4 separate regions of the Homo sapiens genome follow, and all the other regions are linked to region 2. Evidence: promoter capture Hi-C in 16 types of primary human blood cells and fetal thymus (Javierre and others, 2016). All regions are on one chromosome and are shown on one strand. The core of a region is centred on a gene start or on the middle of the fragment in contact, and the rest is flanking DNA. Distances in the headings are between cores, read along the strand shown.

Region 1 (3,199 bases), core at 359-2,858, 480 kb before region 2:
ACCCTCCCACAGGGCCACCCTTCTTGGATGCCAGGCTGACACCTCCCCAGAGAGTGTCAGAGCACAATGTTCAGCCCAACACTTTAATGACACTGCTGTTTCCTGGCTCTCAGATTTGTCCGAAACTGCCTGGTATACCTCGGCTTACTGTGGGTCTCCTCTTCTGGAAGAGTGTACATTCTAGTTAATTCAGTAAATGCCCATGGTGCACCCAAACTTCCTAGACTCTGAGGGCATTTTAGGGAAATTTATATTAACAATTATTTTAAAGCTTCATAAATATATGGCACTTATGAATTTTCAAAAGTACTTTGATCTTCATTACTTTGCTTAAATCTGACACAATCCTATGAGGTAGAAAGGACTTGATATTATCATCCCTAAATAAAGAGATTAAAGATTAGAGAGTGGTTAGTCCAGGGTTATGCAAATAGTCTACTGCAAAGCCTGGGTGGTCTCTGGCAGGCAACAGTAAAGCCATATGCACATGAAACAGGTGTATGAAGAGGTGGGTGAGACTGAGACTGAGAGGGTGGATGGTGCAGGTCCTGTAAGTTTCCTTCTCACAGACTGACCAATCTGAGTTCTACAGGAAAGCCACCCACAGTTCCTCCTTGTTGAGACCCCCTAGATCTAGGAGTTGGGATTGTACCTCTTTGTGCACATTCCATTCTGCCTTGTACAAGAGTTGTGTCTATATGTGAGGGGCCACTGGCCATTTATGAGGTCCTGGAAGGCAGGGAGGGCTTGGCACAGTACCTGGCACATGATAGGTGCTCTCTAGTGTGTTTGAATTGACCGTCCTCCAGCTGTTCTGAAGGTTAAAACAGGACTTTGCTGTGCTGTGGCTCATTCTCACCCTCTAGTGGCCACTTTTAAGAATAACGGACCACAGATGGAGCTGAGCTTCCAAAGCCAATCAGGAGGCACTGCCATGCCTAGGCCACAGTCCACCTTCTGGTCAGGAGAAACTCAGTTATCAATGGAACTCTTTAAAAATACATGTGCATCTCGGGCCGGGCGCGGCGGCTCACGCCTGTAATCCCAGCACTTTGGGAGGCCGAGGCGAGTGGATCACGAGGTCAAGAGATCGAGACCATCCTGGCGAACATGGTGAAACCCCGTCTCAACTAAAAATACAAAAATTAGCTGGGCGTGGTGGTGCGCGCCTGTAATCCCAGCTACTCGGGAGGCTGAGGCACGAGAATCGCTTGAACCCGGGAGGCGGAGCTTGCAGCGAGCCGAGATTGCACCACTGCACTCCAGCCTGGCGGCAGAGCGAGACTGCATCTCAAAAAAAAAAAAAAACAAAACAAAAAAACGTGTGCATCTCTGCTAGCGAGGCGTCTGGCTCTAAAGCAAAAGTCAAATAAGGAAATCAGCCAACTGTTTATCAGGCACTGACTACGTGGCAAGTACCCTGCCAGGACACATGAGATACAGGAAACACAGTTGCTGACCGTAAAGGAGCCCACAATTTAATGTGAAGTAACACTCCACCGCCCAGGCATCCCAGCATGCTTCACATACAAAGAACAATGGAAGTTTTAGAACTCCAAGCAACATTTGATGCTGTGAACAAAGCAGAATTTCTCTGGAGGAGAAAGTTTGAAAAAACCAATGAGACACTTTTTTTTTTTTCATTATCATGGTTCAGATAACCAGAAAACCTTCCTGCTACAAAATACCTACAAGTTCCACATAAAATACAAAAAAGATAATAATAATGAAGTCCTGCTTAATGCATAGCTGAGCATATAAGAAAATGACATTAGACAAGGGCCAAGAATAGCAATTTAAAACATTAGTATAAAACACAATCAAAAATCAACAAGCAGATTTGGACTATAATGAAATGGTTTTTCTAAAAGCCAAAAATATGGTCACTGAAATTAAAAACTTGGTAAGTTTTAAACAGCAAACTAAACATGGGTGAAGAGCGAGTAACTAAATTGGAAATGATCTAAGGAGCTTAGCTACAATGTAGCTTGAGAGATAAAAAGATTAAAAATAAGGCAGGGCACAGTGGTACATATCAATAATCCCATCACTTTGGGAGGACAAGATGGGTAAATCGCTTGAGTCCAGGAGTTCGAGACCAGCCTGGGCAACATAGTGAAACCCCATCTCTACAAAAAATACAAAAATTAACCGGTCATGGCGGCTCACGCCTGTGGTCCCAGCTACTTAGGAGGCTGAGGTGGGAGGATCACTTGAGCCCAGGAGGTTGAGGCTGCAGCAAGCCATGATCACTCTACTGCATTTCAGCCTGGGCTATAGAGTGAGACCCTGTCTCAAACAAACAAACAAACAAAAAACAGATTAAAAATAAAATAAGAGAGTAAGAGACTTAGAAGAAAGAGCAAAAGGTCCTATGTACATGGAACCACAGATCAAAAGATAGAAAACAGAGAGAAAAGTGAGAAGGCAACATTAGAAAAGATAATAGCTATAAATTTTCTAGAATAGATGAAACACATAGAACTCGCCTTCAGGAAGCACATGCCCTAAGTAGGGTAAATAAAAATAAATCCACATTTCAACACATCATAAGAAATTGCAAAACATCAAAGAGAAATCTTTTTAAAAGACAGAAAACAGAAGACCAATCTATCCAAAATGTTGAGAGAAACAGCTAAATTATAACTCAAGAATGAGGGTAAAAAAAGGCATTTTCCAACAAAGAGTGTCCCACTAATAATTCTGACAAATAATTATGAAAAAAATGTGTGTTATGAAGAAAACTGAATCCATAACCAAGATTGACAATGCAAAATAAAATAGTGAACAAAGTCATTAGTAATAATCTGGGAAAATCTAAATGAGCACTGACAGGATAAAACAGTAATCGTAACTAATGTCAAGAATATAAAAGCAAGGTGGAACTATAATACTTAACATCAATAACATGTAAGATAGACAGAGTGGTCAGAGTTTAAGCTTTCAAAGCTTTCATATTGTTTAGGAAGAGGAGAGAAATACTGATTAAATTCAGATTTTGTCAACTATCCATGTCAATTTTAAAAGATGGCCACTAAAGTAAGAAAAATATAATGTGTGTAATTTTCAACCCTAAAAAGAGGATAAAAGTGAACATAAAAAATCTCAACTTTTGGTTAAACAGGATAGGTTGAACCACTGTTTTCTCTCTGCTGTCTTCTAACACCACTCTAAAAATAGTGAATTTAGCAAGATTGCA
Region 2 (3,203 bases), core at 451-2,950:
AGTTCTACATGAATTAACATGCAGAGCTGCCCACCTAATGCAAGTGAGCAAATGGTCCTCCTGTATTCTATATTACTTATGTCCACTGGACTCTCATCCCAGCAACAGTCAAGGCAGCTCTGGGCTCTCCAAAGCTCTTTACAGTGAAGGCCTGGATATTTCTTCCTCCTTTGTGACATGCTTTTGCTTTGATTCCCCATTTTGGCCTCCTCCTTTGTCATCATGACTTTGTTCCTGACTCTGGTCTTTTATTCTACGTTTTTGTTTTGGCTTCTCCTAGCATTTGAATCTTGATTTTTTACTCTGGGACCCTGATTTGACTTACCTCTCTGGCTCTCTATGTCTTATGCTGCATCAGGAGAAAATCTCTTATCTTTTTTCCAGCCCAACAGAGCTCAGCCCATGAAACGGACCTTCAATGGGTATGTTGACAGCACCCCATCACCGTGCCAACACATATACCATGAGGAAAAGGTTTGGACCATATCTGGAGTATTGCATCCAAGTCTGGCCAACCCCCTTCCTCACTGTGAGGGTATCTATGTAAACTGAAGTACATTATTAGAAAAAGGATAGGTTGGGAATAGACATGAACCCTTGGTGATACATAGAATTACTGAAAGAGCCAGAGATGCCTAGGGAAAGGGGGATTATGGGCACAGCAGATCAATCTCAGGATTTGCAGAGGATCCCACTGTGAAAGACTTTTTTGTCTTTCAGGCTTCTCTTGTGTGGCCCCTGGGAGCAGTCTAGCACCTGTGGGCAGAAGCTGTAGGGAAAAGGAGCAGATTTTATCTCTATAAGAAACTTTCTTGTGGTGAAAACTATCTAGAAATGGAATGAGAAAGTGGTGAGCTCCCCATTATTGGAGGTGTTCAAGTATAGGCTGAGCGGTGACTTGTCACGAAAACTGTATGACAGACCCAAACATCAACGGGGTGCTTAGATTCTTTGATCTCGGGTCAGTTCCACACAAGACAGGCTCTGTGTTAGTGAGGACCCAGTGGTGTTTTTGAACAGGCGGCAGGATAACAATGGTATATAAAATAAATGCAGAGAAAGACCTCCACATCAAGCCAACCCCTCCTCCCTACCTGTAAGTTTTCCACCTGAGTGAGCTCTGGCTCCAGCTGCACTTGTCAAACTCCCATTGTTAGAGCACAGATAAATGCTTCCGGCCACCCAAGCAGGAGAGGCCCACCTCAACTTAAGGGCTACTCTATTTTAGTTTTCCGTAGCTGGAGATTGAGTATCACGCTTTTCTAATCTTGTGCTTCTGAAAGGGCCCTGTTCTCTCTTGAACCCCACCCCCTCCTCCTTTCACAGATCAAATACCAAGTACATTGGACAGATAGAAGTTCGAATGAGAAAATGCATTTTAATAAAATCCCATTGATTTTTGTGGATGTAAGTCAAGGAACAGGCACCTAAAGAGTCTTCCATCCCCTGCCGTCTCCCGCCTCTCTCCTGACCTACACCGGGCGGTCATACATCGATTGGCTTCCTAGATAATAGATCGTGCCACCCGGTAGGGACCTCTGGGGACGCGCCGGGAGCTGGAAGAGTCGCACGCAGCAGCCCAACCCTGAGTTAATCAAACTAGCAACAGGATCTCAAGCAGCAGCGACGGCGGTGGCAAGAGTAGCGGTGACGGCGGCGGCGGCGGCGGCGGCAGCATTATGCGTGATTACTGACAGGCACCAGCTGCTGCCGCCACAGCCGTCTCAAACGCACTATGTGGACTCTCCGATCTAGAGGCAGATTCCTGACTAATCCCAGAGGGCTGGCCCAGCCTGTGCTCCCCGGGCTGCTAGGAAGCGATGACCACTCTTGTTAGCCCAAGTTGAAGAAAGCCGGGCTGTGCCTGGGAGCCGAGAGAGGCGGTAATATTTAGAAGCTGCACAGGAGAGGAACATGAACTGACGAGTAAACATGTATGGAAATTATTCTCACTTCATGAAGTTTCCCGCAGGCTATGGAGGTAAGTATCTCCCTTGGGCTTCACTGCGTGGACCTGTATGAGAGACTGAGAAGAAATTGGGAAATACGAATGACTGGATTAGTATTGAATTAAAAGGAGAACATATATGTTTATATGCATATATAGTGTGTATATAGCGTTTCAGCGTGTGTGTGCACGCGTGCATGAGAGAGGAGAGGAGGAAAGAATGGTCTGTAGGTGAGGATACGTTTGCATATCAGAATGAGGATACGGGGATATTCTAAGGAGAGAGTAAACCAACATGCTTGAGAATGTGTCTGAGACAAAGATAGAATAAGAGCATTGTTATAACCCAGTGTGTTTGTGCGGGTGTGAAAAGTGGAAGAGTTAACGGGGAATTACTATGATGTTCCTATTAGCCAACTTGTAATGAGAAAAAATGTGATTAAAAAGGTTTTGCCTATCTTGAGGGTTCCTGGGATACTTTGTAACAAGGGCATGATTGTTTTACTCAAAAGCAGATTTCCCTTTAATTGGATTTTTAAAAAGAAAACATAGTGCTTTAATTTGCTACTGTGTTTTCCTTCCCCTGTTTTCTTTCCTTTGATTTGCTAATAGCCTCTTCTCTCCTCCCCTGCTGCTGCCCCCAATTCTACTGCAAGAGTTGCTGCAATCACTTCCACTCTGGGGGTAGAGATCTGGGGATGGGGGGTTGGGGCTCTTAGAGAATTGGCAAACTGAAGATTCAAGTCACCGTGCCAGGCAGGGCAGCCCAGTCACACTTCACAGAAGCTTCCGGAGACTAGGTCCTCAGGCTGCCTTAACGCCCAAGCACATCCGTCCCAAGGATCCCTTGATTTAGTGACAGAAACAGTACAGCCGCCCAGCTCTGAGTAAATGGAAGCAACAGCTGACCAACTGGCCTGTCGCTTGTCAGTTGGAGGCATGCAGCTTATGTTGCTGGGAGCCAAAGAAAGATTCTGGCAGGCAAGACAGCAGAAATTCTTATAAGGTTTTGAAAATTGAAAAGTCCCTGCTCTCCAGACTTCCTCCGTGGACCAATTCATCTGAAGGCTTGGGACTAAAGCTTGCCTAACTTGGCTGGGCAGAACCCCCTGGGAGGCATGGTGACACACTGCAAGGTAGAAGTGATCTCTGTCACCAGGAGGTGTTAGACCTGGGAGTTTGCACATTCATTCAGGGTAGTTTTTATGAGGCAGGCATGGTGTTGGGCACTGGGAATACAAATATGAATGAGACA
Region 3 (2,942 bases), core at 81-2,580, 430 kb before region 2:
AAGCTTTGTTAGAGCCAAAAATTAGAAGCCACCCAGATGGCCTTCATTACGCCGATGGTTAAACTACGGTATATCCATACAATGGACTATTACTCAGCAATAAAAACGAATGACTGCTGATACAACAACCTGCACGAATCTCCAGAGAATTGTGCTGAGTAAAAAAGGGCAATTCCAAAAGGTTACATACAGTATGGTTATATTTGTATAAAATTGTGGAACGATTAGTGGTGGACCACGGTTAGGGACAGGGAGCAGTGGAGGGGCGGGAAATCCGGGGCAGGTAATAAACAGCAAAACAGCAGTAGCGATGGAAGTGTTCTGTATCTTCACTGTATCAACGTCAACATCCCGGTGTCTTTTGTAATATGGGATCTCTCTGTATTATTTCTTATGTGTTTGTGAACCTACAACTATCTCAAAACAAAATGTTTATCTAAAAAAAAGATTAGCGACTATCCATCTTCTGCCATTTGTCTTTTTATTTATCCCAGAGGTATAGCTTCTCACTTTTCAAAATTCTTAATTTTTCCTCACAAAGCAGTGTTAATAATTAATTGGGATGAGATGAATGCATTCTGCACACAGGACAAATTTTGGGGGGGTCAGTGGACCATTTATAAGTGAGTTACATTGTTGCCCCCCAAAATCTACGATCATATTCTAACTCCCCCAACCTCAAAATATGACCTTATTTGGAAAAAAGGTCTTTGCACATGTAATTAAGTTAAATATCTTGAGATGAGATCATCCTGAATTAGGGTGGGCCCTAAACCCCATGACATGTGTCCTTCTAAGAAACAGAAAAGGTGAAGACACGGAGACATGAGGGAAAGCCATATAAAGGTGAAAGTAGAGACTGGGGTGATACAAGAAATGGCAGCAGAAGCTGGGAGACAGGACGGAGGCATGGGTCTCCTTCAGATCTTCCAGAAGAGGCCAACACTGCCCACACCTAAATTTCAGTCTTACAGCCTCCAGCACTATAAGAGAATGAATCTGTCATTTTAAGTCATCAAGATTGTAGTAATTTGTTACTATAGCCATAGAAAACTAATACACCTGTCACTTTTTTAATGGGTATATTGAATTTCTTTTTTTAAATCACAGAGGATGTACTTTCTTCAACTTTTATTTATGTACACTCCTGTACATACATTGTTTTTATCTCCTTACAGAGGATATATGTCATAAAGATGTATCATTGCATTTTACAAACTTGTCCTGCAGAATTTTTCCTGGTGTTTTCTGTTTGCTCTAATGGTAAACTGTTGCTATCTGGAATATAGGCATGTCTACCTAATCAAATATCCTGGTTAATAATTTATCATACTTACTAAATACTCAGAAGTAAAACTATACTGAGCACAGGACTTAATCTACTGTTTCCTTGGTGACGAAGATGTCACTTCCAGATCCAGTGGTGTGCTTCAGGGTCTTCAAAATGAGTAGCAATTACTAGGCTGCAGATGTGTGAAACTGCCATTTAAGAGAGGTGTTGTGTTTCCATAGAAATGCCCAATAAACTTCTGGGCAAGATAGATTTTAAAAAGCAAGAGGATGAAAACTACCCACCTACTACAATGTCCTAAAAAGCAAAATATAGGTCCTTGTGGTGTTATGATTTATAATGGTTTTCAACCAGGTTCCTGGTCCATAACTCCCACAGCCCTTGTTACAGTCTTTTGTGATAATGTTGGGTCAGGAAACAGAATCTCTTTCCTGCCTTCCTTTCACCTGGCCCGAGGCAGGAATCTAATCTTTCCCCACCTTTCAGATTGTGGGTCTCAAACCCTCCCCTGAGAGGGCTAAGCACTGTAGGAAGGAACGTTTCCAAAAAACCCAAGAAAGCTGGGTACAGGGAGTTTCCGGATAGCTGAACACCTGGAGGTTCCTGGAGGGTGGCACACAAGGGAGGGGTTGGAAACTCCGCACCTCTTTCCCCATGCCTTGCCCTGTGCGTCTCTTCATCTGTGTCCTTTGCAAAATATCCTTTATAATAAACCAGTAAACATAAGTGTTTCCCTGAGTTCTGTGAGCCACTCCAGCAAATTAATCAAACCCTAAGAGGGGGTTATGGGAACCTCGACTTGAAGTCAATCAATCAGAAGTTCCAGAGGCTCAGGTTTGCATGTCTGCAGGGGGCAGGGGCAGTTTTAGAGACTTGAGTTTCCAACCTGTGGGATTTGACACTATCTCCAGGTAAATAGTGTAGCAAGTAAATTGGAGGACACTCAACTGGTGTCTGTGCCTTGCTGTGTGAGGAAATCCCCCCTCTCTCACCACAATCGGTCACAGAAGTCTTCCGTGTTAACTGTTGTGGTGTGAGAGTAAAGGAAAAATGTGGTTTCAGAGAGTTTCCCTACATAGTCCTTTAAAGTCAGGCTGGGCAGGGCACACAGGACCTGGCTTGATTCCTGACTCTAACATACCAGTGATATCTCGGGCAACTCAACCTCTTAGAACACTGGCATCCTTGTTTTAAACTGCAGGTAACCATACCTGTTCCACAAATGGGCCATAAGTGTTAATAAGCTACATGCCTAAGATAGTGGCTAGCACAAACTATATGTTCAATAAAAATTATTCTCTTCTTTAAGATCCACCAAATTTTCATTTAGACAAATCTTTCCAGGAAAGTCCATTAGGAAGCTTTTTTTTTTTTTTTTTGGTAACTCAGTTGAAAACTTCATCAATTCATGCCCATTAGTTTTATTTTCTTCACGTCTATAAAACGGCACAAAACTACATTATCATACTATTAAACCACACTACACAATGAAAACAACACACTAGTGTTCATACATTATGTACCAGGAAAGAAAAAGCATCCATTTCCTTAAGAGTTAGTGTTCCTGCCACAGCCACCTAAGAAAACACCAGGGCAAAGGACAGCACCCTCTTCTAGAATGCCCAAGCAACTGCAATGCCTTTCATGTCCT
Region 4 (2,905 bases), core at 245-2,744, 450 kb before region 2:
TCTACCAAGGGGCACTGCTGTGCCTTCAGCACACAAGCACAGGGACTTAGCACAGGCAGGCCCACACTTAGTAGGGCCTGCGGAGGGCACAGCTGACTTCCCTCCTGAGCTGACTGGAAAGAGTGATAATGCCTCCATAAAGCCTGCTGGAAAATAAAGGGCTAGAGAAGCAGGCTAACAGGATGAGCTGCCCAGTACTTCAGGCACAGGGGATCCTATCCTCGGGGGTCCTACAGTTAGTTCCCCAAATCAGAGCATCTTCATTTTGATGTCTTATAAACAAATTGCAAGGAACTAAGCATTTAATCAAACTTTTCCAGGCAAAACCAGATGTCAGTGTCTTATTTAGTCTCTGTGACCTCACAAGCCTTTCGTTATCCCAAACAGTAAGTGACTAATCCCTTCTCAAATGTTACCAAGTGTCTGGGCAGCAGGATATCCTGGGGCTGGACTGACGCAGCCGGGCTGGACCATGCGACACACAGCTGCCTCAGGGAAGGCATGGGCTTCAGACTCAGGCGGGTGGGGTCCTGTCACAGGCTCCCAGCTCCCCCGCCCTCAAGGTGGCCACCAACAGGGCCACCTGAGGCTTTTAGAACGCACCTCTGCGTGAGAGCCGGGTGTCCGCATCTGTATCCACAAAAAGCTTCATCTGGAACAGGTCTCGTACCTCCTGGGAGTAGAAGGCCAGGATCCCTTCAAAGAGCACCACGTCTGCGGGATAGACAGTAACTGTCTCCTCCTTCCTGCAAAGCACAGAGCAGATAATGGGCCAAGCCAGGCAGGGGCTAGCAAGGGACAGAGAACAAGGGCCAGAACATCTGGCTGGGCTGGGTTCTGGGTTCCTTGCCCCCACAGACTTCAAGCGGGGGCTAAAGACTTGGCTAATATGGTCTTACAGAGCCCTCGGACCACCACCAAAGAGCCAAGGGTGATCACGGCCGGGACAAAGGTCTCCTTTGACCACTTCTGAGCTTTCACCATGAAACAGAAATACACGGCAGACATCCTTCTCCTTGGAATTAAAAAAACCTGCTGTTGAATGAAGAATAAAGGCAGACAAAAACAGATGTGATTTCTTTTTTTCTCTGAAGGCGTCTCCAGGAATGCTCTCATGGCCTGGCATTTATGGAACCTAACACTCTGAACTTTAAAAACAGAAACTCACAGTTTTCTCTCAACAACTCCATCCCCTCCCCGCCAGTCCTGAGGCAATTGAAAGGAGGGAGGAAAGGACAGAAGGGGAAGGGAAGGAGGGAAAATAAAGAAAAGTTTTGGGAAAGAGGATACAGACGAGAAAGCATTTGTGAGGAAGTACAGAATCCCGACGTCTGTCTGGTCTGGCTCTACCCCAAACCAACAAAGTGGCCACAGGTCAATCCTGAGCTCCCTAGAGCTGCTCTTCCTTATCAATAAAGCAGAAATATGCATGACCTCATCCACCCAACCCACATGGTTGGGTAGCCTAGGGCAGGCACTAATTGTAAACATGACTTTTCTTTCTTTTTCTTGTTTTTGGAGACAGGGTCTCACTTTGTCACCCAGGAGGCTGGAGTGCAGCGGCGCAATCTTGGACTCACTGCAGCCTCAACTTCCCAGGCTCAGGCGATCCTCCCGCCTCAGCCCCCTAAGTGTCTAGGACTACAGATGCACACCACCACCCCAGGCTAATTTTTGTATTTTTGGTAGAAACGGGGTTTTACCATATTGCCCAGGCTGGTCTATAACTCCTGGACTCATGCAACCCACCCACCTCAGCCTCCCAAAGTGCTAGGATTACAGGCATGAGCTACCAAGCTCAACCAACATGACTTTTCAAAAAGCAAGAAGGGTGAAACATTGCTAAACGGTTAGGCGACGGGCTGTCACAGATGGCCTTGCTTGTGCTCAGCTTTGCCTTGCTGCAGCTTTCACTGTGTTTTGTCTTTTGATTCTGTCCTATGCCCACCTTATATGTCACCAACTGCCTCTTGCTCAAAATTCACTGAAAATAGAGAAATAATCATCATTGCAAGGTTTCCACTCACCCTGACTAGCACACTGGCAAACCAAATAAAACAAAGTCTCTTAAAACAGTAGTTCCATCTGTGCAAACATAAGGAGGTCAGTATCAACGGCCAGCTCAAGAGGGTGCCGTTGGAACTCCTTCCCATAAACACTTCCTGATGCCTTCTCAGCTTGGACCAACAGGCTTGTGTCTGAGTTTTAAGGCAGGCACTGCTAGGGTAGCTAGCAAGTGGCAGAACGGGGCAGGGAAGACGGGAAAAAAGGACTAGGATTAGGAAATGCCCTAGAATTGTGGTGTATCTGAGATGCATATCAGAACCATCTGGGAAGCTTATAAAAATATCCCTACCTGGATCCTACCCCCAAGGAGCTCTGATTTAATGAGTCTGAAGTGGAGCTAGAACTTCAACACTATTTAGAAGCTCCCAAGATATTTCTAACATGCAGCCAGGGTAGAGAAGCACCAGTCTAGAGGAATGTCAGCTGCCAGAAAATGGTGTGCCCATTGTCATTGTGCATAAGAAGGCAACCTAGAGAAGTTCAGAAAACAGAACCAATGGGTAAGTGAAATAGTGAGCCACTCTCTAGGCAACTCCCCTACACCAAGGAGAGTGTGGGAAGGCTTTGTCCAAAAATAAAGTGAATGTATGTGCAAGAGTCCACTTGAACACACTAACAGAGAACACAATGGCTGCACTAAGTTTACATATCCAGGTTAAGTATCCCTTATATGAAATGCTTAGGTGTTTAGAATTTTTGAATTTTGGATTTTTTTCAGATTTTGGAATATCTGCATTATATTTAGGGCATCCCTAATATGGCAGGGGGAGAGAGGATCTACAATGAGCCTCCCTAACATGAAAATCCAAAATCTGAAATGCTCCAATGAGCATTTCCT

What was found. Contacts are between HindIII fragments. The CHiCAGO score rates a contact against its expected background, and 5 or more counts as called.
Region 1: a contact is called between a fragment that was not itself captured here and the fragment with the promoter of RXRG in region 2, in 7 of 17 cell types (naive CD4 T cells, activated CD4 T cells, naive CD8 T cells and 4 more). The highest score is 10.3, in naive CD4 T cells.
Region 3: a contact is called between a fragment that was not itself captured here and the fragment with the promoter of RXRG in region 2, in 5 of 17 cell types (non-activated CD4 T cells, naive CD4 T cells, total CD8 T cells and 2 more). The highest score is 7.5, in non-activated CD4 T cells.
Region 4: a contact is called between a fragment that was not itself captured here and the fragment with the promoter of RXRG in region 2, in 4 of 17 cell types (naive CD4 T cells, activated CD4 T cells, total CD4 T cells and 1 more). The highest score is 6.5, in naive CD4 T cells.

What each region holds. Positions count from the first base shown.
Region 1 is chr1:165,922,538-165,925,736 of GRCh38, reverse strand. No RefSeq gene overlaps it. Among named protein-coding and RNA genes, the nearest start is that of MIR3658, 16 kb to the right of the region's middle. The HindIII fragment of the contact is 2,669 bases long and covers 274-2,942 here.
Region 2 is chr1:165,443,623-165,446,825 of GRCh38, reverse strand. RXRG (retinoid X receptor gamma) reads left to right here and starts at 1,700. Exons shown (of 10, transcript NM_006917.5): 1 at 1,700-1,981. The coding sequence starts at 1,933. The HindIII fragment of the contact is 7,493 bases long and covers 1-2,736 here.
Region 3 is chr1:165,874,767-165,877,708 of GRCh38, reverse strand. The region is part of intron 1 of UCK2 (uridine-cytidine kinase 2); the gene reads right to left. Among named protein-coding and RNA genes, the nearest start is that of MIR3658, 32 kb to the left of the region's middle. The HindIII fragment of the contact is 2,649 bases long and covers 6-2,654 here.
Region 4 is chr1:165,894,031-165,896,935 of GRCh38, reverse strand. UCK2 (uridine-cytidine kinase 2) reads right to left here. Exons shown (of 7, transcript NM_012474.5): 4 at 604-746. Among named protein-coding and RNA genes, the nearest start is that of MIR3658, 12 kb to the left of the region's middle. The HindIII fragment of the contact is 1,691 bases long and covers 649-2,339 here.